Linked DNA regions of Homo sapiens: region 2 is linked to region 1. The links are contacts of gene promoters, found by promoter capture Hi-C in human tissues and cell types (Jung and others, 2019). All regions are on one chromosome and are shown on one strand. The core of a region is centred on a gene start or on the middle of the fragment in contact, and the rest is flanking DNA. Distances in the headings are between cores, read along the strand shown. Region 1 holds the start of HACL1 (2-hydroxyacyl-CoA lyase 1). Region 2 has its middle 120 kb from the start of GALNT15.

The links. The method cuts DNA at HindIII sites, captures the fragments that hold promoters and counts their contacts. A contact is called where the count stands out against the background at its distance.
Region 2: a fragment that was not itself captured here is called in contact with the fragment with the promoter of HACL1 in region 1 in 1 of the 25 tissues and cell types used here (hippocampus).

Annotation. Positions count from the first base shown.
Region 1 is chr3:15,597,615-15,604,539 of GRCh38, forward strand. HACL1 (2-hydroxyacyl-CoA lyase 1) reads right to left here and starts at 3,955. Exons shown (of 17, transcript NM_012260.4): 1 at 3,769-3,955; 2 at 3,476-3,580. The coding sequence starts at 3,849. It overlaps BTD (biotinidase), which reads left to right and starts at 4,131. Exons shown (of 4, transcript NM_001370658.1): 1 at 4,131-4,280. RefSeq lists an enhancer at 3,860-4,502 and a silencer at 4,344-4,403. The HindIII fragment of the contact is 8,334 bases long and covers 1-6,925 here.
Region 2 is chr3:16,047,053-16,053,569 of GRCh38, forward strand. No RefSeq gene overlaps it. Among named protein-coding and RNA genes, the nearest start is that of GALNT15, 120 kb to the right of the region's middle. The HindIII fragment of the contact is 6,949 bases long and covers 1,574-6,517 here.

The DNA of each region.
Region 1 (6,925 bases), core at 2,705-5,204:
TTAACGACATAAATGTGGAAAAAAAAAAAAAGGAAATGTTTATGGATCATAATCTTAACTGGCTCTACTATCATACACCCACTGAGAACCTGCACAAAGACTCTGCTCTTTTCCTGTGTCGCTATTCTCTACTGGCCCCATCTCTCTTTCCTTTTGCACATAAGGCCAAATTCACATTAGGAGAATAAGACAACTCCTAAGAAATGCAGGCATGTAAATACCTGCTGCAATAAGAACACTTTATTTAGACACCCAAAAGAATTGCCCACTTATGATAGCTAGGTAAGAAATGTTGCTAGGCAATGCAAAATATACAACAACACGTAACAAAAAGTATATTCCTCTGGTAGGAAATGTCAAAAGTTGAGAGGTAACTGTTTTGTTTTGTTTTATTTTGTTTTGTTTTGTTTTTTTTTTTTGAGACAGAGTTTCGGAGTTTCGCTCTTGTTGCCCAGGCTGGAGTGCAATGATGCAATATTGGCTCACGGCAACCTCCACCTCCCAGGTTCAAGCAATTCTCCTGCCTCAGCTTCCCGAGCAGCTGGCATTACAAACATGCACCACCACGCCTGGCTAATTTTATATTTTTAGAAACGGGGTTTCTCCATGTTGGTCAGGCTGGTCTCAAACTCCTGACCTCAGGTGATCTGCCTGCCTCAGCCTCCCAAAGTGCTGGGATTACAGGCGTGAGCCACCGCGCCTGGCCATAACTGGTTTTATGACCATAAAAGATCTGTTCCTCTACTAAACTACCTCCATTCACAGGCAGAACAGTGTACATGGTACTTAGAGAGTGGACTCTCGAGCCAATCTGTTTTGATTTAAATCCCAGCTTCCCCACTTTCTACTGTGTAATTTTGGCAAGTTGCTCTAAATCTCTGTTTCTTCATCTATAAAATGAAAATAATTCAAAGCACTGCTGTGAGGATGAAATCAGTTCGTATGTGTAAAACACTCAAAATAGTGCCCACACACAGTAAGCTCTCAAGAACAATGAACTTGCTGACAATCTGCCTACTTGCTGGCCAATTGGTCAGTATGTCTTGATTACTCTATGGATCTAATCAAAGACAATGAAGTCACACCCAACTACATCTTTCTCTTTATCACAAACATGTCCTGAATGCCTTAGCCTGTTTTCATGTTCCCTCTGAATCATTCTGTCACTACCCTTAGTTCAGGTACCATTTAAGTCTTCCTTTGACTACCATAGAGTCAGGATGCTTGAGGGACATATGCACTGGGATGTTCCACCAACATCTCAAATGCATGTGTTCAAAATTGAACATCACCTTTCTCCTCCAAGCTGGCTCTTCCCTCTATATTCCCAGTCTCAGTCACAGACAATATGATCTACACAATCAATCAAGTAAGCCCAAAATCTAGGAATCATCTCCAGAGGAGCCTGCCTCCTCTTTCCTAACTGGTTAATGCCTGCTTATCCTTCAGGACAGCTCAGACATCATCTCCTGTGGGAAGCTGAGCCTGGGTACTCCTTCTCTGGGCTTTATAGCACCCTGGATATCTCTCTATCACAGCACTTACCACCTTATAATACAATTGTCTGTGTCTGTCTCCACAGCTTGGCTGTAAGCCCCTTAAAGCCAGGAACTATCATTCATCTCTGTATCCAGCACCCAACACAGCACATGGGACCTAAAGAACCCTCAACTAAGCTTATAGGGGCTGAAATAAAACTTAGAGACAGAGGTCGTGCTATGTTGCCCAGGCAGCCTCTAATTCCTGGACTTGAGTAATCCTCCTGCCTCAGCCCCCTTCGTAGCTGGGATTACTGGCATGTACAACCATGCCTCGCATCATCTTTCTGAAGTACAAATCTAATTACATCGCCCACCTGTTTAGAAAAACCTTTAGTCTCCCCCATTGCCTACTGTTAAAAAAAAAAAAAAATTCAAACTCTTTTTAGATTTCCCACAACCTCCCCTCAACCTACCTACCAGTCTCACAGCTCACCATGCCTTTACCTACCTTGAGGGAACCACATGAACTAACATTACCTCTACAGGCAATCTTCTCTGTCCTCAAAGAGAACCAGTCACCCCTTCTGTGCTACTACATCTATTGTGAGAGTTATAATAGATGAGTCTTTTTCTGTAAGTCTTACCCTCACCTTCCAGGACTGATCAACGTGAAGATCAAGACTAAACCTCACTCCTTCTTTACATCCCTCTCTCCTACAGGTTATGTAGCACAATCCTTAGTATACAGTACTTAGTCAATAAATGTTTGCTGTATGAAGAAATCAGTGGCAGATATGTCATCTCTACAAAAACAGTTAAGTATAGGTTCCATTCATAGGTCAATAGCTTCATTTTTTCACACAGATGAAAGAACAGAATGTTGTTCTAACAAAGACAAGTAAAATGTAGAAGCAACAGAAACTCAAAACCTCCTAGTTTTAAGATTAAAAAATACAAATCTCAAACCTTGTAGATAAAGAATGTCATTCAATAAAGAATGTCATTCAATAAAGAATGTCATTCAATTAATAAATAATGTATAATATTAAGCATCTACACCACGTGAAAGCACAAACCAAGCCAGGCACTGTGGTGATATAACAAATGAATCACAACTTCTGCCCTCCAGGCACTCATGTATGATGGCAAAAGGCACCACTTAGGGTGGCCAGGCAGTTGTTTGGGCAAGAGGAGGCAAGAATTTAAATTAGAAGGCAACGGTGGGAGTGTAAAGCAGGAATATTTAGCCTCAGCTGGACTGAGAGTATGTGATATCACAGAAGTGGATTCTTGACCTTTCAAGCCCGCACTACTGAGAGAAGAGCAAGGTGGATTGGCAGAGGATGCACTTAAAGTGGATTGACAAAACGTCGTATCTTCCTTATCCTGCTTCCAAATAAGCCTCTAAGAAAGGTGGCAGCATGATGTGGTGGAAAAAGCATCAGGCTAGGATCTGAGCCATCTGAGTTTCCATCAAGGCACTACCATTTGTGATATCCTCCACCCTGCCCCGAACCAATCATACAACAAAGCCTTGGCCTTCACTCATTTATCCCACAGGTAATCTCTGAACACCTTTCTTATGCAGGCACCACACTAAGCACTGGGGGTACAGATGTGTCGTGAAGAAATAATATCCCTGCTCTAATGGAGCTTGTAGCCTAATAGGGAAGTCAGACTTTACTCATAAACTGTCCATTCCAATCATGACATACAGTATAGTAGTAAGAGAATGGACTCAGACCCAGAATACGTGGGTTCAAACCCTGGCTCTGCTACTACCAGCTGTGTCACCAAAGGCAAGTTTTACTTAACCTGTGTCTTTTCTCATCTGTCAACTTGGTGTAACAACAGTTAATATTCAACAGTGATTGATATGATATATGTAAAGTAGCAGAAGAGTGGTAAGCGCTATCTGGGTGTTTGCAATGCATACCTACCGCTATTACTGATCATTCCCAGTAACGCATTCAGCCACCTGAGTCCATACTCACCGCTTGCTCATTCCTCATCCCGATGTACTTGATGCCTAGCTGCTGGGCAGCAATGGCGATTTCGGTCACTGGGATGCCTACGATGCCAAATATGTACTCCACATCCTGAGGAACGAAGAACAGGGGAGTAAACTCCCAAGGCCCCACCATATCGCCACATCCTTCCCTCCCTCCCGGGCGCTAAAAGGAAAACCCCCCGACCCCCATCGCCCATTTCTACTCGTCTCCAAGACAACATCGCGGTCCCCGCCAGCTTCCGTAGGAGCCTTTCATTCCAGGAAGGTCCATCGTACTTGCGTTTTCAGGGCCTGAGCGATGACTTTAGCACCAGACACCTGCTCCTCGCTGCGCTCTGCGAAGTTACTGTCCGGCATCTTCCACCGAAAAGCTCTAAGCACTCACGCAGCCGGCAAACAAGCGGAATCATCCAGCAAGGCAAACGCGAAATCGGCAGCACGCCACCTCTGGTACTGCACCTCTGACGGACAGGAGGGCAACCAACTGCCTTAAACAACGGGAAGGAAGAGGCGGTCTAAATTCGTCCACTTCCCGGGAGAGGTGAGAATGTAAACACGCGCGTTCTCCAATCAGAACTGCGCTCTCTTCTCGGCTCCTCCATTCGCGCGCCAGAATGCCAGAGGGAGGCGGGACTAGCAGGAGATTGCTGCCTATGCAAAGCAGGTAAGAAGCCGAACTCTGAGGCCTCTCGCCATTGTCTCCGAGTCGGCCAGCTGGAGCGTTTTCGGGGCTGTAAAGGGAGAATGGCGCATGCGCATATTCAGGGCGGAAGGCGCGCTAAGAGCAGGTACGGAGGGGGCGTGGTGCGGCGCGGAGGGGGTGTGGTAAGGGCGTGCGGTCCAGACCCCGCCCCGGGCGCCCAGTTGGACTTGGGGAGGGCTGCGCAAAGGCTGCCGGGAGCTGGGAAGCCCGGCGCGCGTCGTTTGCTGGGGCTGTTTGTGCGTTGCTGCTGTGCTACCGCGTTGCGTTTTCTAGGCATTTACTTACACGCTTTGTGGTTTACGCTCTCATAACCTTGTGGTTTTATAGTCCTTAAATTATTGTAGCGCACGTTACTTAAATCCAGAAGCAGATGTGTACCCCAGCAAGAGATAAAATGACGCTCAGAGTCAGTAGATCCAGACCGTGCCTGAGATCCTGAATCCTGTTTCCTACCCACTATTCAGCCATTGGGTCACAAGCGATGAAAAGAGCACCTTGAAGGTAGTATAGAGCACTGTTTTCTCCAGCCCTTGCTACTAATCCATATTACTCTCCGCTAATATCTTTCCAAAATTAGGAACTATGGCGTTTCATAATTCTTAGGTTGGGTCCCTACCTACAACCAGCCCTGCACCCGATAGCCTTTTAAAACATTTTTGTGTGAAAATCGTTTGCAATGTGCAATATCTGAAACTACTGCCTTGGAGTCATTAGACCCTCTGCTCAGTGACAATAAACATAAAATTTCCAATTGTAATAAACAGTGGAACTTTTAATTTTTTGAGGATTTGGAGTCATTTTAAGCAAAAAGAACAGTGATAAGTGGACAGTAAAGAGATGAGAGGGGAGTGGGTCATGGGTAGTGAAATGAGTGAGAAGCACTGGAAGTGAAACGATTTCTAAACCCAGACATTTTCAAACTGTAGTCCTGGGTCTTTTCAAAAGGTCTTCCCCTCTTTTTCTCAACCCCTCAACCCCACCCCAAGCAGAGGAGAGTGAAGTGGTTGCCTCCCTGCATATGTGGACGGTGTTAGTCCATTTTCATACTGCTATAAAGAAATACCCAAAACTGGGTAATTTATAAAGAAAAAGAGGTTTAATGGTCTCACAGTTCCAAATGGCTACGGAGGCCTCACAATCATGGCAGAAGGTGAAGGAGGAGCAAAGGCATGTCTTACATGGTGGCAGGCAAGAGAGCGTGTGCAGGGGAACTGCCCTTTATAAAACCATCAGATCTCATGAGACTTACTATCATTAGAACAGCATGGGAAAAATCCCCTCCCCATGATTCAGTTACTTCCCACTGGGTCCCTCTCACCACATGTGGGGATTATGGGAGCTATAATTCAAGATGAGATTTGGATGAGGACACAGCCAAACTGTTCTGCCCCTGGCCCCTCCCAAATATCATATCCTCACATTTCAAAACCAATCATGCCTTCCCAACAGTCCCCCAAAGTCTTAACTCATTTCAGCATTAACTCGAAAGTCCACAGTCCAGAGTTTCATCTGAGACAAGGCAAGTCCCTTCCGCCTATGAGCCTGTAAAATCAAAAGCAAGCTAGTGGCTGGGCGCAGTGGCTCACACCTGTAATCCCAGCACTTTGGGAGGCCGAGGCGGGCGGATCATGAGGTCAAGAGATGGAGACCATCCTGGTCAACACGGTGAAACCCTATCTCTACTAAAAATACAAAAAATTAGGCGGGCATGGTGGCAGGCGCCTGTAATCCCAGCTACTCAGGAGGCTGAGGCAGGAGAATGGTGTGAACCCGGGAGGCAGAGCTTGCAGTGAGCTGAGATTGGGCCACTGCACTCCAGCCTGGGGGACAGATCGAGACTCCGTCTCAAAAAAAATAATAAAATTAAATTTAAAAATAAATAAATAAAAGCAAGATAGTTACTTCCTAGATACAATGGGTGCACGGGAGTGAGGTAAATATACCCGTTCCAAATGGGAGAAATTGGTCAAGACAAAGGGGCTAAAGCCCCCATGCAAGTTCAAAATCTGGCAGGGCAGTCAAATATTAAAGCTCCAAAATGATCTTTGGATCATTTTGACTTCGTATCTCACAGCCAGATCATGCTGATGCAAGAGGTGGGCTCCCACAGCCTTGGGCAGCTCTGCCCTTGTGGTTTTACAGGCTACAACCCCCTCTCCCAGCTGCTTTCACAGGCTAATATTGAGTGTGTGCAGCTTTTCTAGGCACATGGTGCAAGTGGTCAGTAGATCTACCATTCTGGGGTCTGGAGGACGGTGGCCCTCTTCTCACAGTTCCACCAGCAGTGCCCCAGGAGGGACTCTGTATGGGGGCTCCCACCCCACATTTCCCTTCCACACTGCCCTAGCAGAGGTTCTCTATGAGGGCTCTACCCCTGCAACAAGCTTCTGCCTGGACATCCAGGCATTTCCATACATCCTCTGAAATCTAGGCAGAGGTTCCCAAACCTCAATTTTTGACTTCTGTGCACCTGCAGGCTCAACACCATGTGGAAGCTGCCAAGGCTTCAGGCTTGCACTGTCTGAAGCCAGGCCTGAGCTGTACATTGGCCCTTTTTAGCCATGGCTGGCATGGCTGGGATGCAGGACACCAAGTCCCTAGGCTGCAAACAGCAGGGGGACCCTGGACCTGACCCATGAAACCATTTTTCCTCCTAGGTTTCTGGGCCTGTGATGGGAGGGCCTGTTGTGAAGGTCTCTGACATGCCCTGGAGACATTTTCCCCATTGTC
Region 2 (6,517 bases), core at 3,798-6,297, 450 kb after region 1:
ATAAAAACTATCGTATCTGTTTACTTTAAAAACTTGGAAACAGGATATTCTAACCTTATAAAAAATCTTCTAAAATAAACTGGTTTTTTAGTAATGTGAAAAGATAAATCTTCTAATTATTTTGTAAGTACAACTGATTGACATCAGGAAAAATGGAAATTATTAGCTGAATTTTAACAAAGACCTCTGCAAAATTGGTGAATGAGGCTGAAAATGATTTTCACTATTTTTAGGCATAGCCCATGAAGCACTTCTTTCATTTGTTATCTATGCATATTGGCGAAGCCCCTTTTCAGTTATTTCAAAGCCATGTACTGGAATAATGTGAATTTAGACCTAGGACTGCACACAGCAACCTCACAGTGTTAATGATTATTAAAATTCAAGCATATTTACCTTTGCTAAAACACATTTTTTAAAAAGTGAGAACACAAAGATGCTGTGCCCTAATAATTAAAATGAACATGAAAACATTTTTATGATAGGTTCACGGGGCACATTCGCAGGTTTGTTACAAAGGTTATATTGCATGATGCTGAGGTTTGGAGTACAATTGAACCTGTCACCCAGGTACAGTGCATAGTACCCAGTAGGATATTTTTCAACACTTACCCCTCCCTGGCCCCCTCTTGAATTTCTCAGTGTCTATTGTAAAATAATGTTCTAAAAAACAGTTTATTATTTATATTTTCCTTTTAAAATTCCAAAGTGTGGAATTTGGGCTGGCAGCATCGGCATCCCCTGGGAGTTTATTAGGACTGCAGATTCTCAAGCCCCACCCCAGGCCTCATCTTATTGCTTTGAGTTAAATGGAGGAATCCTCTGCGTGGATGAGTTTTGCCATAAGTACAATCAGGAGATGACAGAGCTACTTTGCTCTTTGGTGGGTGGGTAGGTGAGACGGTTGAGAGTGGTCTGTTCTTCTGGTTGAGATTTTGAAGACTAGAGTAGTTCTTGATATTTTGAAGTATATTTATATTAAAAGAGACTTTCTTGGAGTAGGTGAAGCCACTACATGGTGTAATTCCCAACCCTACCTTTATGATGGCACCAAATAGGATAATTCTGCAATAATACTAGCTAACATGTAACACTTACCATGTACCAGGCATTGTCCTAAGTTCTTCTTAGAGAAGAATTTGGGCCTGGTCAGTCTAGCTCCAGAGCCCATGAATAAACCATTATGCTATACTGCCTGGGTATAAAATATATAAAGGAATAAATACCCACAAATTAGGGATGCATCTGCAGATATTTTTATTGATGGGGAACAAGATTAAAAAAACATTTGGGGACACTAGGCTAGTGGATACCAGCTCAAATGCTACTGTGACATAAAAAACCTTTCCTAATCTGGCCCAGCCAATGTCCCTGACCCCACTTCTTGCTCTGCCCCCTTAAAACCTGTGCTCTAAATTCCACCATCTTGAACTGGCATCCTGGCAGCTCCCTGAATTCCTAATGCTTCCTTCCATCCCTGACTCCTATCTCTCCTTCAGAACTCAGCCTGGGTACCGCCTGCCTTTCCTAACTATTTAATATCTGCCCTTCCCCCAAAAGGCCAGTCCAGGCATCCTTTGTACACTCTCAGCATTGTCTGCATACTCTGCATGACATTTGTCCTACTATTTTATAATAATCTATTCACTTGTTTGTCTACCAGCCTTGAGGGCAGCACTCTATCTTGTTTATTTGTGTATGTCCTCGTGCAGAGCCTGGAACATATTAGGTGCTGTTTGCATGAATGAATGATTGACGAAAGAGAAAGCAACCATTGCCCTAGGAGTTGTTCTAGGATCTGTTATTTGTTTAATGGCCACCAGAGGGGGGCAGACGAACAGGGTCCAGTGCACAGCACCCATCTAGAACTCTGGGTAGAGAATGTAAATACTTATTCTAGGGCTGGAAGGGAAGTTCAATGGTCATGTAAAGCGTTCCTCTGTTTTAGACAAAAATTAAACAAACCTTTCCAGGTAAGCACAGTGATATTTAAAGTTTTAAGTCAAAAAGAATTGTTTGAATCTAGGCAGACTTTAAATCTGAAGAGTTGGATTCTGGTTCCAATTCTAACATTATTTAGCTTGTCTGATCTCAGATGAGACCCTTGGATTTTGGAGACTCAGTTTCTGAATCTGACAAATGGGTGACATACTCATTTTTTCTACCTCCTGGGAGTGTTTTGTGACCCACAGGTAATAATGCACACAAGCACCCTAAAAATGACAAGTAACAAATAAAGTATAATAAAAATCAGGGGCTAAATAAAAATAATTTCAATCTCCCTTGTTCAAAATTAGTTTTCTGAAATGTGAGCTGAAAGCCAAGTATAAGCATGGAGTTGAAATGAGCATGGACTTGTGTTGAGACCACAGATGCATCAAGATTTCAAGCTGTGCATTATTTAGGCCATTTTATTCATTTGGCTCCCATTTGACCACCTCAGCTGCACTGCCAGAGGCCAGCTAATCCCTCTGCATCTAGCATCATCTATGCCTGGATAATTCACGTATCTCACCACACATGTATATCATTTCTTTCTTTTGTAAATGTGCATGAATGTTGTTACAATGAATAAAACACAAATTCATAGAAAAACTTTCATGAGTTTCCAGTCACATTTACCATAATCTATTTTTTCTTAAGAGATGGGGTCTAGCTCTGTAGCCCAGGCTGGAGTGCAATGTCACAATCATAGTACACTGCAGCCTTGAACTCCTGGACTCAAGCAATCCTCCTGCCTCAGCCTCCTGAGTAGCTGGGACTACAGGTGTGCACCAGCATGCCCAGCTATTTTTTTTGTAGAGATGGGGGTCTCACTATGTGGCCCAGGCCAGTCTCCAGCTCCTGGTCTCAAGCAATCCTCCCACCTCGGCCTCCCAAAGTGCTGGGATTGTAGGCATGAGCCACTGCAGCTGGACCCATAATATATTTTAAAAATCAACATATATTTAAAAATATATTTAGGATTGAGTTGCATTATATGCATATTGAACCTATGCAAACATGACTCTGTGGGTTTAGCAAAACAAAAAGAAAAGAAAAAGAGAAAAAAGAAATTCTTACAAACAGCAAAACAGAAATTAAACCACCATCTTTTTTTTTGAGACAGAGTCTCACTCTGTCACCCAGGCTGGAGTGCAATGGTGCAATCTCGACTCACCGTAACCTCCGCCTCCTGGGTTCAAGGGATTCTCCTGCCTCAGCCTCCCGAGTAGCTGGGACTATAGGCATGTGCCACCACGCCTGGCTAATTTTGTATTTTTAGTAGAGATGGGGTTTCACCACGTTGATCAGGCTGGTCTTGCACTCCTGACCTCAGGTGGTCTGCCCACCTTGGCCTCCCAAAGTGCTGGGATCCCACAGTCTTTTAATAGAGTTGGTGATTTGGCTCCATGAAGGGATGGATGCCCAGGCTGAGCACAGATTGGTGGATGTGACTGCTTCCCCTCAGTGGGTTTCAGCTCTTGCCCAAACCTCTCATGATAGAGTGTATTTCTGTATTTGTCAGTAATTTAAGAAGTTTTAAAGGGAAACTTTTACATGAGCAATCATTTTGTCTTATATTTATCTTTTGAAGCCAGCTCACCATAGAAGATGCTACTCCACATGTGGAGGGAACATGACATTTTGGGGCACAAAATAGGAATCCATCAGTGGAAACACTGATCTAGCCTAGAAAACAGACTCCCAGTGCCTTCCCAGAGATTGGGGTGGAACCCAGACCTTTCTCGTTAAGATCAGTGCTCTTTCTACCCACAGCTGTGCTAGTTAACATGCCTTGCACTCTGGAGCCCATCCTCCCCGCAGGCCTGGGGGAATCCGTGAACGCCTAAACTGTGCATACAGCCGAGGCTACTCTTTCAGTACAGGCAGTCTATCCCCACGCAGACAGTTTTTACTCACAAATGTTTGTTTTTCAGGGTCCTGCCTGGTCATCATTTCCACTGTCTTTCATGTGTTACCTTTATATTGGAATCAGAATGTGAGCTGGAAGCAATTTTCAAGCCGGTTTTGAACCTCGGTCAGGGCAATCAGAGGCATGTGTGAAGAAATCGCTGAGGCTGGGCAGCCTTCAGGCCACCAGCACTTGGTTTCCTTTTCTCCCTTCCTCCCTCAGTAATGTGACGGCCAGATGCATCCTATGCCCCAGCACCACCTCACCCTCTGGCCTGGTTTTTGAGCTTCCTTTTCCTCTTGGGTGAGGCCATGTTTCCTTGATACTTCTGGCCTCTATTCCTTGAAGGCCGGAAGGCACTCTTGGGGCGGGGGAGGGCCAGTCCCTCGACATGGAGGGGAGGGTGCTGAGAGGGGTGGGGGCAGCAACAGCAGCTGGCAGGCCCAGGGTGTGAGCGGGCAGGCCTCTGTGGGCACCGGGACAATGGCTCGCTCACCCCCTCACCCTCTAAACTCAGCAAGGCTGAAGCGCTGTTTGGTGCTGGCTTCCCTCCTCTCTGGTGGGTGAAGAGGTCTCCCTATGAGGGGAAGTTCAGCATTGAGCTTCCACAGCAAACTCTCCAAATGCCAAAGGAGGCTGTGGAAATTAGGATTATCATGGCTCCAGAGGTTTACGGACCATCTTGAAAATCTGAGGTAGATTTTATCTGGGGTGGTGGAAGTTTTCTCTGGCTCCCATGGCTGGCTGGCTGGCCTGAGCTTCTATGGACAGAATTTTGTTAGATCCCAAGGAAAACTTGCCAATGCTGAGAGCTCGTAGACACCAGAATAGGTTGTGAAGACAGTGGAATCTACTTTGGCGGTCCTTAAAAATAGAATAACTTCTCTTCACTCTGTAATGGTCTGGAATGACAGTCTGTTAAAAAAAAAAAAAAAGGAAAACATGACAACCACAAAGCTCTTAATTTTCAACAACTCTTGAGTTTAAGCTGTTTTAGATTTGCTGCAAGTCCTCACATCCTTTGATTGCCTGTACAATATTAAACACATATTGAAGACGCTTTGCAACATGCCCAGATACTAGAGCTCCAACGCAGAGGAAGGAAATTAATATTTGGCAGAAAATCCCAGGGACACAACTTTGTTTGGAAAATTATGTCTACCACACAAATGGAAATTAAAATTCACCTCTGAGGGACTGATAGGATTTTTCCCCATTAAGTAACCTCCTACCTCTGTTTAATTGTGTAAGGAAGTTTGTAACCTCTGCATACTCTCGCCAGGCTCTGTCCTCATTTCCTCACCTCTTTTGTAATCTAGGTCCCAAGACTTCTAGAAGACTCTCTCGATGGGTCTTTATTCCCCAATCGCTGCTTTAACAGAGACATGTGGAGGCAGGAGACTGGGACGAGGGAGGCAGCTGAGAGGCAGTTAAGGGAACACTGAACCGAGACCCTCTTTCACTCCCTTTGCCTTCTCCAGCCATACCCTCGGACCTTGGTCCTCTATACTTGGCTATGGTTTCTGAACCCAAGCAATGACATGGGATCTGACAAGGGCAAGTGTACTTATGGGCAAAGCAGGATGTGGTGTACTTGAGACTGGTTCTGTCCCAGGGAATTGGGAATCCTAGTGATGGGTCACATACGAATCCCCTAACTAAAAAATCAGGTACATGCCAGTTCACTTCTTTAGACCTTGTTTGTGTGGCAAGAATGTCACATACAAAAGAATTCATGCATAGATGAGGCCATGTCAGTCATGACTTAGTGTGAGAGCCATTTTAGGATGTTGGGCAGCCCTGGGCATGCGATCTTTGGTGGCGTCTGCACCATCCCAAATGCAGTAAAAGGTCCTTCCACCTCCTTGGGAAGTACATGGATGTGGCAGTTGACATCATATAATGTTCAACGTGCACTTAAACATTTATTGAATTATATTTATTCTATTTGAGAGACAATATCATTTTTTTTAGGTCTCAAATATTTCTTAGGGCATTCAAAATTACTGTGCCTGTAGAGCCAGTGGATAAAATGTCCTAGGCATGGAACACTGGCCTAGAGGACTAGACATGAAAAATAAAGTATGCATACCCCTTTAGCAATACCCTGCAAATGCAAACATAAGCATGACCTTAAAATGTATGTTTATGGTGAGGAGAGGGCAGTGGTGCTGTTGAGAGAAGGAAGAGTCTCAAAATTTCCAGTGAGCAGAAATTACTTGACTCATCCTGACTGTCTTCTCATCCTGACTGTCTTCTCATTCTGACTGTCTTCCTTGGGAGTGAATGGAAAGTAATAATGTTAATTAAAGGGGAGCAAATGTCCTTAGGTTTGCCTTTATTTGGGGGAATAGTTTTTGTTTTATTTTTAGGGAACCTTCAGGCTGCTTCCCAATGATGGGGCCCATGACTTTGGCACTATAGTTCCCTCATCACAAAGTCTTCCACCATGAAGGTCTCTAGGACCCCCACCATAGGTATGAGACTCTTTCCATTTGTAAGGAATGGAGGGGAATACTCAGTTGAAAATTTGACGATGGGTATTCACATTCATTTTAAGGATACACAAGGAAAGTGAGGAGTGCTGTTTTGTCTCAGCAAGTGCACTGTTATCCACACGAC